3 separate regions of the Homo sapiens genome follow, and all the other regions are linked to region 3. The links are contacts of gene promoters, found by promoter capture Hi-C in blood cells and fetal thymus (Javierre and others, 2016). All regions are on one chromosome and are shown on one strand. Each heading gives the region's core, a stretch centred on a gene start or on the middle of the fragment in contact. The rest is flanking DNA. Distances are from core to core; before and after follow the strand shown. Region 1 has its middle 22 kb from the start of BOLA3. Region 2 overlaps CCT7 (chaperonin containing TCP1 subunit 7). Region 3 holds the start of TPRKB (TP53RK binding protein).

What was found. The method cuts DNA at HindIII sites, captures the fragments that hold promoters and counts their contacts. A CHiCAGO score of 5 or more calls a contact.
Region 1: a fragment that was not itself captured here is called in contact with the fragment with the promoter of TPRKB in region 3 in 1 of 17 cell types (fetal thymus); the score reaches 5.3 in fetal thymus.
Region 2: a contact is called between a fragment that was not itself captured here and the fragment with the promoter of TPRKB in region 3, in 1 of 17 cell types (total CD8 T cells). The highest score is 5.2, in total CD8 T cells.

Annotation. Positions count from the first base shown.
Region 1 is chr2:74,123,814-74,127,898 of GRCh38, forward strand. It overlaps a transcript of TET3 not described here. Among named protein-coding and RNA genes, the nearest start is that of BOLA3, 22 kb to the right of the region's middle. RefSeq lists an enhancer at 1-462. The HindIII fragment of the contact is 788 bases long and covers 1,671-2,458 here.
Region 2 is chr2:73,235,139-73,239,291 of GRCh38, forward strand. All of the region lies in intron 1 of CCT7 (chaperonin containing TCP1 subunit 7), which reads left to right. Among named protein-coding and RNA genes, the nearest start is that of CCT7, 2.9 kb to the left of the region's middle. The HindIII fragment of the contact is 881 bases long and covers 1,085-1,965 here.
Region 3 is chr2:73,734,347-73,738,681 of GRCh38, forward strand. It overlaps TPRKB (TP53RK binding protein), which reads right to left and starts at 2,999. Exons shown (of 5, transcript NM_016058.5): 1 at 2,956-2,999; 2 at 83-245. The coding sequence starts at 223. RefSeq lists enhancers at 3,261-3,340, 3,381-3,440. The HindIII fragment of the contact is 15,665 bases long and covers 1,258-4,335 here.

The sequences.
Region 1 (4,085 bases), core at 815-3,314, 390 kb after region 3:
GAGTGTCTCTGCCCGGCCGCCCATCGTCTGAGATGTGGGGAGCGCCTCTGCCCCGCCGCCCCGTCTGGGATGTGAGGAGCGCCTCTGCCAGGCCGCGACCTCGTCTGGGAACTGAGGAGCGTCTCTGCCCGACTGCCACCCCATCTGGGAGGTGAGGAGCGTCTCTGCCCGGCCGCCCCGTCTGAGAAGTGAGGAGCCCCTCCGCCCGGCAGCCACCCCGTCTGGGAAGTGAGGAGCCCCTCCGCCCGGCAGCCGCCCCATCTGCGAAGTGAGGAGCCCCTCCGCCCAGCAGCTGCCCGGTCCAGGAGGTGGGGGGCAGCCCCCGCCCCGCCAGCCGCCCCATCTGGGAGGGAGGTGGGGGGCAGCCCCCGCCCGGCCAGCCACCCCATCCGGGAGGGAGGTGGGGGGGTCAGCCCCCGCCCAGCCAGCCGCCCCGTCCGGGAGGGAGGTGGGGGGTCAGCCCCCGCCCAGCCAGCCACCCCGTCTGGGAGGGAGGTGGGGGGTCAGCCCCTGCCCGGCCAGCCGCCCCGTCCGGGAGGTGAGGGTCGCCTCTGCCCGGCCACTGCCCCGTCTGGGAGGTGGGGGGCGCCTCTGCCCAGCCGCCACCCCGTCTGGGAGGTGTACCCAACAGCTCATTGAGAACTGGCCACGATGACGATGGCGGTTTTGTTGAATAGAAAAGGGGGAAATGTGGGGAAAAGAGATCAGATTGTTACTGTGTAGGTGTAGAAAGTAGACATGGGAGACTCCATTTTGTTCTGTACTAAGAAAAATTCTTCTGCCTTGGGATGCTGTTAATCTATAACCTTACCCCCAACCCCGTGCTCTCTGAAACATGTGCTGTGTCCACTCAGGGTTAAATGGATTAAGGGCGGTGCAAGATGTGCTTTGTTAAATAGATGCTTGAAGGCAGCATGCTCGTTAAGAGTCATCACCACTCCCTAATCTCAAGTACCCAGGGACACAAACACTGCGGAAGGCCGCAGGGTCCTCTGTCTAGGAAAACCAGAGACCCTTGTTCACATGTTTATCTGCTGACCTTCCCTCCACTATTGTCCTATGACCCTGCCAAATCCCCCTCTCCGAGAAACACCCAAGAATGATCAATAAATACTAAAAAAAAAAAAGAAAAAGGTTAAAAACTAAAAAAAAAAAAAAGGTGCTAACATGTATATTTAATACTACTCGGAATTTTTTTTCTTTTTTTTTTTGAGATGGAGTCTCACTCTGTCACCCAGGCTGGGGTGCAATGGTGCAATCTCAGCTCACTGCATCCTCTGCCTCCTGGGTTCAAGTGATTCTCCTCCCTCAGCCTCCTGAGTAGCTGGGATTACAGGTGCCTGCCACCTGCAGAGACAGGGTTTCACCATGTTGGCCAGGCTGTTCTCGAACTCCTGACCTCAGGTGATCTGCCTGCCTCGGCCTCCCAAAGTGCTGGGATTACAGGCGTGAGCCACTGCACCTGGCCTCACTTGGATTATTTTTTAATTGTGGCGCTGTTTCTCCCTACAACATGACTCTTACAGATAGCTTCAAAAGCCTGGCTGGATGGATAACACCATGGTACAATACACGTTTTCAGACAGCCACACAGTAGACTTTTAGGCATCATACACTTGAGTTTTCCTTGGCTAGTTTTGACTATAATCAAGTTTTTCATGCTGAGATGAAGCTTTACATGGAAAGCTGCTAACTGCCAATTTACAACTGTGTCATTTGAAATTCCATAAACATTTCTTCTTTTGGCAGCATTTATAAATAACAAAAAAGTTGTATTCTAGCTTCTAACCATCCTTTGTGAATAAGAAGTGTGGCATTGTGGAGGTACAGAAGACTTCAGCTCTCATATATAGTACCTGCCATAAATTAAAGTATGCTAAAATTTTTTTTTTTTTTAACTTTATAGAGATGAGGTCTCACTGTGTTGCCCAGGCTGGTCTCAAACCCCTAGCCTCAAGCAATCCTCTTGCCTCAGCCCCCTAAAGTGTTGGGATTACAGGCATGAGCCACCATGCCCAGCTGAATGTTATACTTTGTAGCTCAGTAAATTGAACTATGCTAGTTTGTTAAATTTTACCATTATTCACTTAGAGAAAATCACAAACAAAATTTAAAATCTCAATTTTCTTTGAGGCAAGGGTCTTGCTATATTGTCCAGGCTGGTCTTGAACTTGTGGCTCAGGTGATCCAACCACCTCAGCCTCTGAGTAGCTGGGATTCTCACCCTTTTTGAGTACAGAAGTAAATAAGTACTTGCACTAAAATTTTGTATTTTTTCTTAAACATGGTTAAGATTATTGTTTTCATCATAATTAACCTATCATGTCTATTTGATCCCATAGAGCCAATTGAAATCTGGAGAAATTTGGTCAGTTAACCTGTTGGTTTTTATATATGGCACCAACTGATCTCTACCAGATTGACACAGTAGATCAGCTGTTTTAATGCTGAAAAGAGAAGCTTATATAAATACAGTGCACATCTATTAATGCTTCTCACGTCTGTAGTTCTGTTTCAGGCAGAGGTTTTTTGGCATAGGACCTGTATTCAGCTCACACTTTCCTAGGCTGGCTATGAGTAGAATGCCTCGTGGCAGTAGCTACACTCATACATAGGCATTGATCTTAGATCTGTGTAGAGTTTTAAATCATTGGCATCTTTTAGGCCTAAATTTTATATTTGCTGGATTTTTTTTTTTTTTTTTTTTGAGATGGAGTCTTGCTCTGTCACCCAGGCTGGAGTGCAGTGGTGCATCTCTGCTCACTGCAAGCTCCGCCTCCCGGGTTCACACCATTCTCCTGCCTCAGTGTCCCACGTAGCTGGGACTACAGGCACCCGCCACCACTCCCGGCTAATTTTTTGTATTTTTTCAGTAGAGACGGGGTTTCATCGTGTTAGCCAGCATGGTCTCAATCTCCTGACCTCATGATCCACCTGCCTCGGCCTCCCAAAGTGCTGGGATTACAGGCGTGAGCCACCACACCCAGCCTGGAATTTTTTTAAAGCAGTAAATGTAAACGCTAACTTTAGAAAATATTAATAATATGATTAATTTTAGCCAGAATAAAATAATTTGCCATCTTTATAGAAATCTGGCCACGTAGGAATTAGCATTCTTAAAATTGGCACTGAAGCCAGAAGATGGATAGTGAAATTGGTCACATGCATAGACAGCTACCAAGTCCAGTGTTTAATGGTGCCCAGTGAAGAGGATTGAAGCACACACCAGAGAAGCAGCTGTAACTGGGTCAGAAGAAAAGTGTCAGGCTGAGACTTAGTTTTAGGTAGAAAAATGAGCTGCTTGCCTCTACATTCATTATTGGCTCATCTCATAAACTCAAATGAGGGGATCAGAAGCTGGCAGAAGGGACGGACTCATGCTTGTTGATCCGGATGACCTCTGTTTCAAGGTTCCAGCAATGAGTTAGCTTACATTTTACAAGGTCTCCCAAAGTGAAATGTAGTAGTCTTTACTTAGTGACAGACTAATTTACAACTATGTAATTCTTTTAAGTTTGTAATTAAAATTTCTTCTGAATTATTAATGGCTTTATTGACATGATGTTAATAAAGCCTCTCATCTTGCTGTTAAGTATTGTAGTGAGAAAATCAGCTGACCTGGAAACCATGGGGATTGGTTCTAATGAGCCATAAATGCTTCCCCTCTTCCTTCAGCACTAGTAGACTACCAGCTTTAGGCATTTAACCAAACGAATTGGAGACAGAAAATATTAAAATCCAGCCATCCTATATCAGATGATGAACTCATTTCCAGACTAACTACCCAAGAAAGCAAGTTAAACACTGTAAAAGCCTAAAACGGGGCAAGTTGGGATTAGCTTTTAAAATGCCTGCCTTGAAAAACACATTATTCTGTGAGGTTTTTTTTTTTTCTTTAAAGTTGTGCAAATTTGATTCGGAAAAATAGCTTAATAGGTTTGTATAGGGCACGGGAGAAGGGGTTGTGTGCATAAATGTATGATGATTATTTTAAGTGTGTGCTTCAGCAGCGACAACAAACAGATGAAGATACGTGATACTGACTAAACAGGCAAGAGTATTTTCTAGTCTCAGTTCTTCTAGTC
Region 2 (4,153 bases), core at 275-2,774, 500 kb before region 3:
TTGAAATTTGGGGCGAGGGAGTTGCTGTGAGTCCTGGAGCCACCTAAAGTGCTCCTTGTAGCCCTACTTCCCACACTTCTTTTCTCTGTCTCTCGGAGCTTTAGATACTTTCCGTGGGTCCCAAGCCTCGATGGTATCTCCTGGGTTGTTATTGAGTAGGGCCAGCTTCCGAGGTGGTGTTTGACCCTGACTGAGATACTGCTTTCTGTGCACTTGGCAGTTCACTTATTCATTTTGGCCTGTCCGACTCTATCTTCTGCTCTTTTCCTGCTTCCTGCAGCTTTTCTCTGTCCTGTTAGGGACGCAGACACCTTTTAGGTGTTCTACCAAATGCCCTATGAATCCCGCTTGTACCCAAGGTAGAAGGAAATTAGCATTTAACAGTACTTCCTCTCCCCTTTATGTCTCTAGCATTGCTCATTCTTGAAGTCGTCTTCATCTTCTGTGCAGAGGCAGCATAGTACAGCAGTTGAGAGTAAGGCCTCTGGAGCTACACTGAATGCCTAGGTTTGTAACTTAGCTCTGCCACTTACTAGCTGTGTGACTTTGAGCATGTTATTTAATTTCTGGTTCTCAGTTTGTCAGTGTGCCTAGCAGATAGTAAGCACTCAGCAATGTTAGCTCTTACTCGGCGAGGTGGTTGTTTGCTTCCTTTCATCTCTGAAATCAGTCCATCCCGCTGCCAGGGCTTCCGTAAGAGCTTTGGTTCACATTCACACAGCTAGGGATCAGAACCGCCATTCTCTGCCGTGATAAAACTTCACCAGTGGGCTCTAGATCATCACACTTGGATTTTCCCTGAACTGACCCCTCCTCTGTCAGATTGACGTTTCCCTGCTGTATTGGCTCTTGATATCTCCTCCCCATTTTTGGAATGTGAAACTTCTATCTCCAAGAGTCTTCCTGTCTTCAAATTGGCCCCTGATATTCTAGAATACTTCTGTAATCGAAAGAGAGGTGAAAAGGTCCCCTGAAACCTCAGTCCTGTGATGTTGGTACAGCTTGCATAAAATGTATGTCCTTGCCTTTGTGGCGTTGAGCGCTGTGTGCCTTGGCATAGACACACTTGTTTTGTAAGCCATTAAGCTTAATGATGCTTAGTGAAAGTTTTAAAGTAGGATGAAGAGGAAGATCAGTAAGCTGAAATTCCAAAACCTTCCATTATACCTGTGGCCAATTACTGGAGTCTGCTCTTGTTTCTTTTTCTTTTTTTTTTTTCCCGAGATGGAGTCTTGCTCTGTTGCCCAGGCTGGAGTGCAGTGGCACCATCTTGGCTCACTGCAACCTCCATTCCCAGGTTCAAGCAATTCTCCTGCCTCAGCCTCCCAAGTAGCTGGGATTACAGGCATACGCCACCACGCCTGGCTAATTTTTGTATTTTTAGTAGAGACGGGGTTTCACCGTGTTGACCAGGCTGGTCTCGAACACCTGACCTTGTGATTCACCCACCTTGGACTCCCAAAGTGCTGGGATTACAGGCGTGAGCCACCGCACCCGACCTTGTTTCTTATTTATTAGAGGAATAAAAAAAAGGAGCGAGGTTGAAAGTAACTAAGGGATGGAAACTGGACTTTGCATACAGTGCCTGCTGCTGGGGAACTGTTAGAAGAGGACCTATCCTGCTTGTCTTGGCTTGACTCAATCCAGCTCTGCCACCTTTTCCACCCCATAGATGCTCTCTACCCAGCCTGCTGTTTCTTCAGGGCCTGCAAAGCATAGGGAACCTGGGGAATCTGTGGTTAGCTGCTTCCAAGCTCTTCTTGCATTGTGCTTAAGAACTCTCAGTAAATGTAGTGTTACTGTAGTGCCAGTGCTTTTCTCCCCAAAAGTCAAGAAGCCAGTGCTGTCAAGCACTTACAAGTAGCAGTTGGATTTTCAGCCCCAAAAGCTGCTGAATATTGCTTCATGTGTGGCCAAATCTTGGCACTCTTCAAATTAAGGTTATTTTGGTCCTTGTCTTTGGAAAGCTTGTACTTAAGCTGGATGGTGATAAAAAGTTGCGAGCAAGGGCAAGTGAAGAGAAAGTTATGGGATTCCCCTATTCAGATGCCCTTGTTTATTACTGTAGAGAAAACTTCTTGGAAGAATTGGAGCTCTGAGGAATTGGTGGCCTGGTGGTGAGAAAGTGGTTTTGGTAGAAGATGGCAGAGTGACTATTTTAGATGGGGGTACACTTTGCAGGTTGAGGTGAGAAAAAGTATACACAAGCATTGGGTAAGTTAACCTGTTGAGGTGAAAGAACCTGTTGAAGGTGATAGGAAGTGATTGAGACTCATGTTAGTTTTTGATTTAAAGTGTAAGACTCCATCCGTGGCAGGGGTGGACCAGAGAAGACTTGGGGCTGCCATAAGGAATGATTTAGCAAGACTGGGAGATGGTAGGGCCTTTCAGGACACACATCTTTCCCTTACAGAAGGTGCCAGGGACTGGGCCAGCTGAAGAGCCAGAAAGAATGCTGGGAGTATAGAGAAGCCATTTCTTGCCACCAGACCTGGGACACTCCAGCAAAAGGAAGGAATTTTCCCTTCAGTTGACGCCTGATCCCAAATGTAGGGGTTTACATGACAAGCATTCTTTTTAAAATAAAAAATAAAAGGAGTAATGTATGATTATTTGACAAGCATTTAAAAAAATTTAATGAGGGCCTGGCATGGTGCCTCATGCCTGTAATCCTAGCACTTCAGAAGGCTGAGGCAGGAGGGTTGTTAGAGGCCAGGAGTTGGAGACCAGCCTGGGCAACATTTTTTAAATACAAATTTAAAAAATTAGCCAGGTGTGGTACCTCATGCATTGCGGTCCAGCTACTCAGGAGGCTTGAGCTTATAGTAAGCTATGATCTCACCACTGCACTCCAGCATGGGTGGTGGAGCAAGACCCTGTCTCTTAGAAATATATATTAAAAAATGAATAATATATTAAATTACTCCCACTCTCTTATTCCGTAGAGTTTATTGGGTATTTTTCGTTTTCTTTTTGTAGAGACAGGGTCTTGCCATGTTCCCCAGGCTGGTCTTGAACTCCATGAGCTCAAGTGATCCTCTTTTTTCTACAGTGGTTTTTGTTTTTTATGTAAATCACAGTATGCCATTCCTCTGCTGAAAGCTTCCCAGGGCTTTCCTTTTTAGGAATGAAATCTGAACTCCTCACCATAGTGTGTCTACGAGTGTGTATGTGATCTGGTTCCTGCCTGCCTCTTCAGCTTTATTCCAGTCTTCCTCTTGCTTACTACCCTCCAGCTGCGCTGGCCAAAAGAGTTGAACTTTTTAAGGAATTGACCAGTTAATAAGGAATCAGCCTCATGAGTGGCAAGACTCTGTCTTTGGCAGGAATTCCTCACTCCTCATTGTTAGGTTGGGAAAGCTCTGTGCTTTCCTGTGCCTTCCTTGCTCAGACATCCACGTACCTCTAAGGACTAGGTGATGGCTTTCAAACTTTTTATTGCATTCCACAGTAAGAAATACATTTTTAATCATAGCCTAGTAACAAATTTAACACAATAAAAGTTTTGAAATAGTATTTATCCTTACTACATTCTGTGTCACACACAAAATTAGCCAGAAACACTTGAGAAGACTGGATCTAGTTCGTGGGCTTATCTCTGAAGGCTCAGATTTGAATGTGGAGAGAAAGTAGTCTGGTTTGCTAAGCTGAGAAATTGCTCTCTCTGCTAATAATGGTGGTCACTAGAGCAAAGATATCTGAGCGGGCCCTTTAAAACAAGCAAGTATCCCTGTTTCTCAGTTTCTAAAGCAGGTCTGCAAATGAAGCCCTTACGGGGATAGGGAATGTTCTGGAGACCAATGCAATATAGAAAGAGGAAAACTTCTTTGGGGTATCTGATTGGAAATTAGTCACACAGAAGCTTTATTCAGCCAGCATGAGAGATGGAAACATTGCTGTATGAATTAGATTTGCCATCATTTTTCAAAACAGGGCAAAGGTGCTGTTTGTTTCTCTGCCTGTTTTCCTACACTGCAGCTGAACATCACTGTTACATAAAGCTGACTGCCTAGGCATCTCTAGGACAACACCTCAAGCTCTTGGCATCTTGCATTTTGCATCAGTGTCCCATCTGCTTCTCTAAGATTGAGCTGTAACACAGACAAGTGGATGTTTTGCTGCGGAATGAACACTTAGCAGGGTCTGCCTCTTC
Region 3 (4,335 bases), core at 1,749-4,248:
CCTCGGCCTCCTAAAGTGCTGGCATTACAGGCGTGAGCCACCGCACCCAGCAGGCTCATTCATTCTTAAAATTTATATTTACCACTGTAGGATTTATCAGTGATCCATCGATGGTGCCTTCCATGGCCTTTCTTCTCAAGTCTCCCGCATTTTTTACATCTTTAAATAACAGAAGGGTTACCCTGCATTCGGGAAATAGGTCCAGCTGATGTGTTAACTGCATTTCACAGATAAGCAGGATTCTACTGCACACAAAATGAAAAGACCAAAAGATTTCATTTAAAAGTTAACATCAGAACTCATTTCTTAATAAATATTCAAAAACTTTGAAAGTAACTTGATAAAAGTGTTAAACTAGAAAAATCCATCGCCAAAGCCCATTTGGCATCCTCATGAGATGTTGTCTTCCTAACCCTTCTGAGTTGTTCTGTTGTCATCCCCAGGGAAACGCCAAGGGGCCCAGCTGGTTGCTGTTTGTTCAGATGAGGCAGGCTCAGGTGCATGGTTGAAGGGCTGCTTCCCCAGCAGACAAGTAGGAGCAGAATGTCAGGAATTTTTTAAACCAGAGGTTGCTTACGGTATTAATGAAGTCTTACTCTATCTTAGTCTTTTTAACTTCCTGATCTCATCATTTTATTTATATTTTAGGAAGGCCTAGACATAAATATTAAGGAAGAAAATAATTTTAAAGAATAAAGTAGGCTGGGTGCAGTGGCTCATGCCTGTAATCTCAGCACTCTGGGAGGCCGAGGCGAGCAGATCACCTGAGGTTGGGAGTTCGAGACCAGCCTGACCAACATGGAGAAACCCCGTCTCTACTAAAAATGCCAAAAAAATTAGCCAGGCATGGTGGCGCATGCCTGTAATCCCAGCTACTCAGGAGGCTGAGGCAGAAGAATCGCTTGAACCTGGGAGGCAGAGGTTGCAGTGAGCCGAGATCATACCATTGCACCCCAGCCTGGGCAACAAGAGTGAAACTCCGTCTCAAAAAAAAAAAAGAATAGGGGGAAGGGATAGCATTAGGAGATATACCTAATGTAAACGATGAGTTAATGGGTGCAGCATACAAACATGGCACATGTATACAGATGTAACAAACCTGCACGTTGTGCACATGTACCCTAGAACTTAAAGTATAAAAATAAAAAAAAAGGATAAAGTATCCCACTTGACCCAAAGATATTCATTCCACGCATGGAAATTAAGCAGAGAGGGTACAATTATTAAATAATCAATGTCGCTCCTTTCTTGGACATAAGCTTAACAAGAAAAGGATAGGTTATTATATATAAAGACATAAAAGAAACATAAAAGACAACTTGAATAACCAGAAAGACATGACCATATCTTTGAATGGAAAAACTATGTATTGCAAAAATTTCTTTAAAACAATTTCTATCAAATTCTTAATAAAATATTTTGGTGGGGCAATTTGAGACTCATTTTATCCTTTTACCTGGCAGATTATATTTCTAGAACTCTTTCTGATGGAAGTCATTAGGAATCCAATAATTATATAAGATGTTCCTCTCATTATTTTAACAGTAAAAAGTTGCAAATAACCTATCTAGCTAATGATGGGATTAGTTGTTATTTAACAACCATTAAAACATGTGGTCTTGACGGTGTGTAAAAACGGCAATAAATAACATTAAGTAAGTAAAAACATCTGAATGGAAAACAAAACACAAACTGGCCAAAATGTGGGTTTTTTAAAAGGCTTTTAAACAAATATTAAAAAGAAAATACACCAAAAAGTTAATGTTATCTCTTATTTAGAATTAATTTGACTTTTTCTGTTACAAACAGAAAAAAATATATTTGTGAACGATATCCTGGCACACAGTTCAATCATTAGTCATGCTAAGGTGGAAAAAATGGATACAGAAAGACATAATCAGTAGGATCCCAATTATATAAAAAGATACACATATTTTTTTAAAATACATGAAAGAAACACTAAAATATGACCATCTTGGGTAGTGAGGTTATGAGGTGATTTTTATTGTCCTTTATATAAAAGAAAATATTTTGTTATGTATGTTCTGAATTTTCTACAGTAAGCACACAAAACATGAGTACACATAATAAGAAAGGAAAAAAACGTGCTTTTTAACACTGAGTGGGGGGAAGAACCCTTAGAAAACTTCAAAATAGTTTGTTCTTGTTTAGCGTAATTTACTCACTCAGGTCAGAAACTTGGAATCATCGTTGAGACCCAACCTGTCACTCAAATCCTATATCTAATCCGTAAAGTCCTGAATTTTCACCTGCTAAATATACTTTTGATTCGTCCACTTCTCTCCCATACGCTAGGTCACATCGCTCATCTACAGCAGTAGCCTTCTGAGTGGTTTCTCACAATTCCTGCCCTCCTATAATCCAGTCGTCACCAGCAGTTACAGTGATCCTTTCAAAATGTACATCAGATCTTGTCATTCTGCTGCTCTTATGATAAAGCCCCAACTTTGTGTCACGGTGTTCCACACTCTACGATCTGGTCCCTGCCTCTCCTCTTCTGCTACCGCCGCAATGGCCTTCTCTAAGCTCAAGTCACCAACCTTTCTCCCCGATTCTGCCCTATCGGACAGGTAGTTCCCTCTCTCCTTTCATCTCCGCCTGACGCACTCCTCCCTCCCTTCAACTCCATTTGGAGTCCATTTACTACAGCGCCCAGAACCCCGGCACTACGGCTCTTTTTAGTCTGAGGACTAGCTCCTTTTTGGGCCCAATCACAACTCTGAAGAATCCTGCGCCTATCCGCTGCATGTCTCCTCACTAAACTATTTCTTGAGGGGACAGCCTGACTCTATCATTCTCGTGCTGCATTCCCAGGGGCTGGCCTCGTTGCCGCTTGAGAAATACCAACCGCAGCCGTTGTCCCAAAGACACTACTAAAACTGCCCGGACCCTCCCGCTCCCGAGCCTGCCCGTTAGAGCGCAAGGAAAACTCACCATCCGGCCCCCAGTGCGTCTCGGAAGAGCTCCCGCTCCGAAACAAAGCTCACAACTTCCGGAAGCGATGGCCAATCCCCGTCTTCTTCGAGCCAGTTTCCGGATAGGCCGGCTCGGGGTGGCCATCTGTTTCCGGGTCCTGGTAGGAGGGGTGCTTCCGCCCATGGTCCCGCCCATTCTTCCGCCTCCCCAACCTGGGTCCCGTCAACGGACGCGAAGGAGAACAGGGGCTGTATATCACTTCCGGCGAAGGAAATGGAAGAATCTATGGGCTGGGACCGGAAGCTGGGGTCTGGTTTTGAGTCTCGGCTTTGTCTTAACCTGTGTTGGGCGTTGCACCGGGCGACCTCAGTTTCTTCCTGTACAAGGAAAAGTACTGACCAAAATGAGTTCTACATACATTTCCGCTGCTGGAGATTTCTTTGGTTTTTGAGACAGAGTCTTGCTCTGTTACTCAGGCTGGAGTGCTGTGGTGCAATCTCGGCTCACTGCAACCTCCGCGTCCCGGTTCAAGCCATTCTCCTGCCTCAGCCTCCCGAGCAGCTGGGACTACAGGCACCCGCCACCACGCCCCGCTAATTTTTTGTATTTTTAGTAGAGACGGGGTTTCACCGTGTTAGCTAGGATGGTCTGGATCACCTGACCTCGTGATCCACCCGCCTTGGCCTCCCAAGGAGCTGGGATTAGTTCTTTTTCTGGGCCATGTCTCCTGTGACACTTTGGACTTTTGAGTTTAATGCTGGAACAAGTTAAAATTTTGGTAGGTGATTGGGAAGGCATGATTATGTTTTGCAATGTCAGAAGGACATGAGATTTGGGGGTCCAGGGATGGATTGAATATATGTCCCTGCCAAATCTCATGTTGAATTGTCCCCATTTTTGGAGGTGGGACCTGATGGGAGGTGTTTGGGTCATGGAAGTGGATCTCTCATGGCTTGGTGTCTTTGCAATAGTGAGTGAGTGCCAGGAAGATGTGGTTATTTAGAAGTGTGTGGCACCCTCCAACACAGTCTCTTGGTCCAGTTCTCACCATGTGATGTGCCTGCTCTCTCTTCTCCTTCTGCCAATAGTAAAAGCTCCCTGGGGCCTCCTCAGAGGCCAAACAGATGGTGGTACTATGCTTCCTGTACAGCCTGCAGAAACATGAGCCAATTTAACCTCGTTTCTATATAAATTACCCAGTCTCAGGTATTTCTTTGTGGCAATGCAACAGCCTAATTGCAGGGGGCAGGGGCAGGGGGAAGAGGTGGGGAGGCATGACACACTGGGCTAAAACATGAAGAACATTCGGCCAGGTGCGGTGGCTCACGCCTGTAATCCCAACACTTTGGGAGGCCGAGGCAGGCAGATCACCTGAAGTCGGGAGTTCGAGACCAGCTT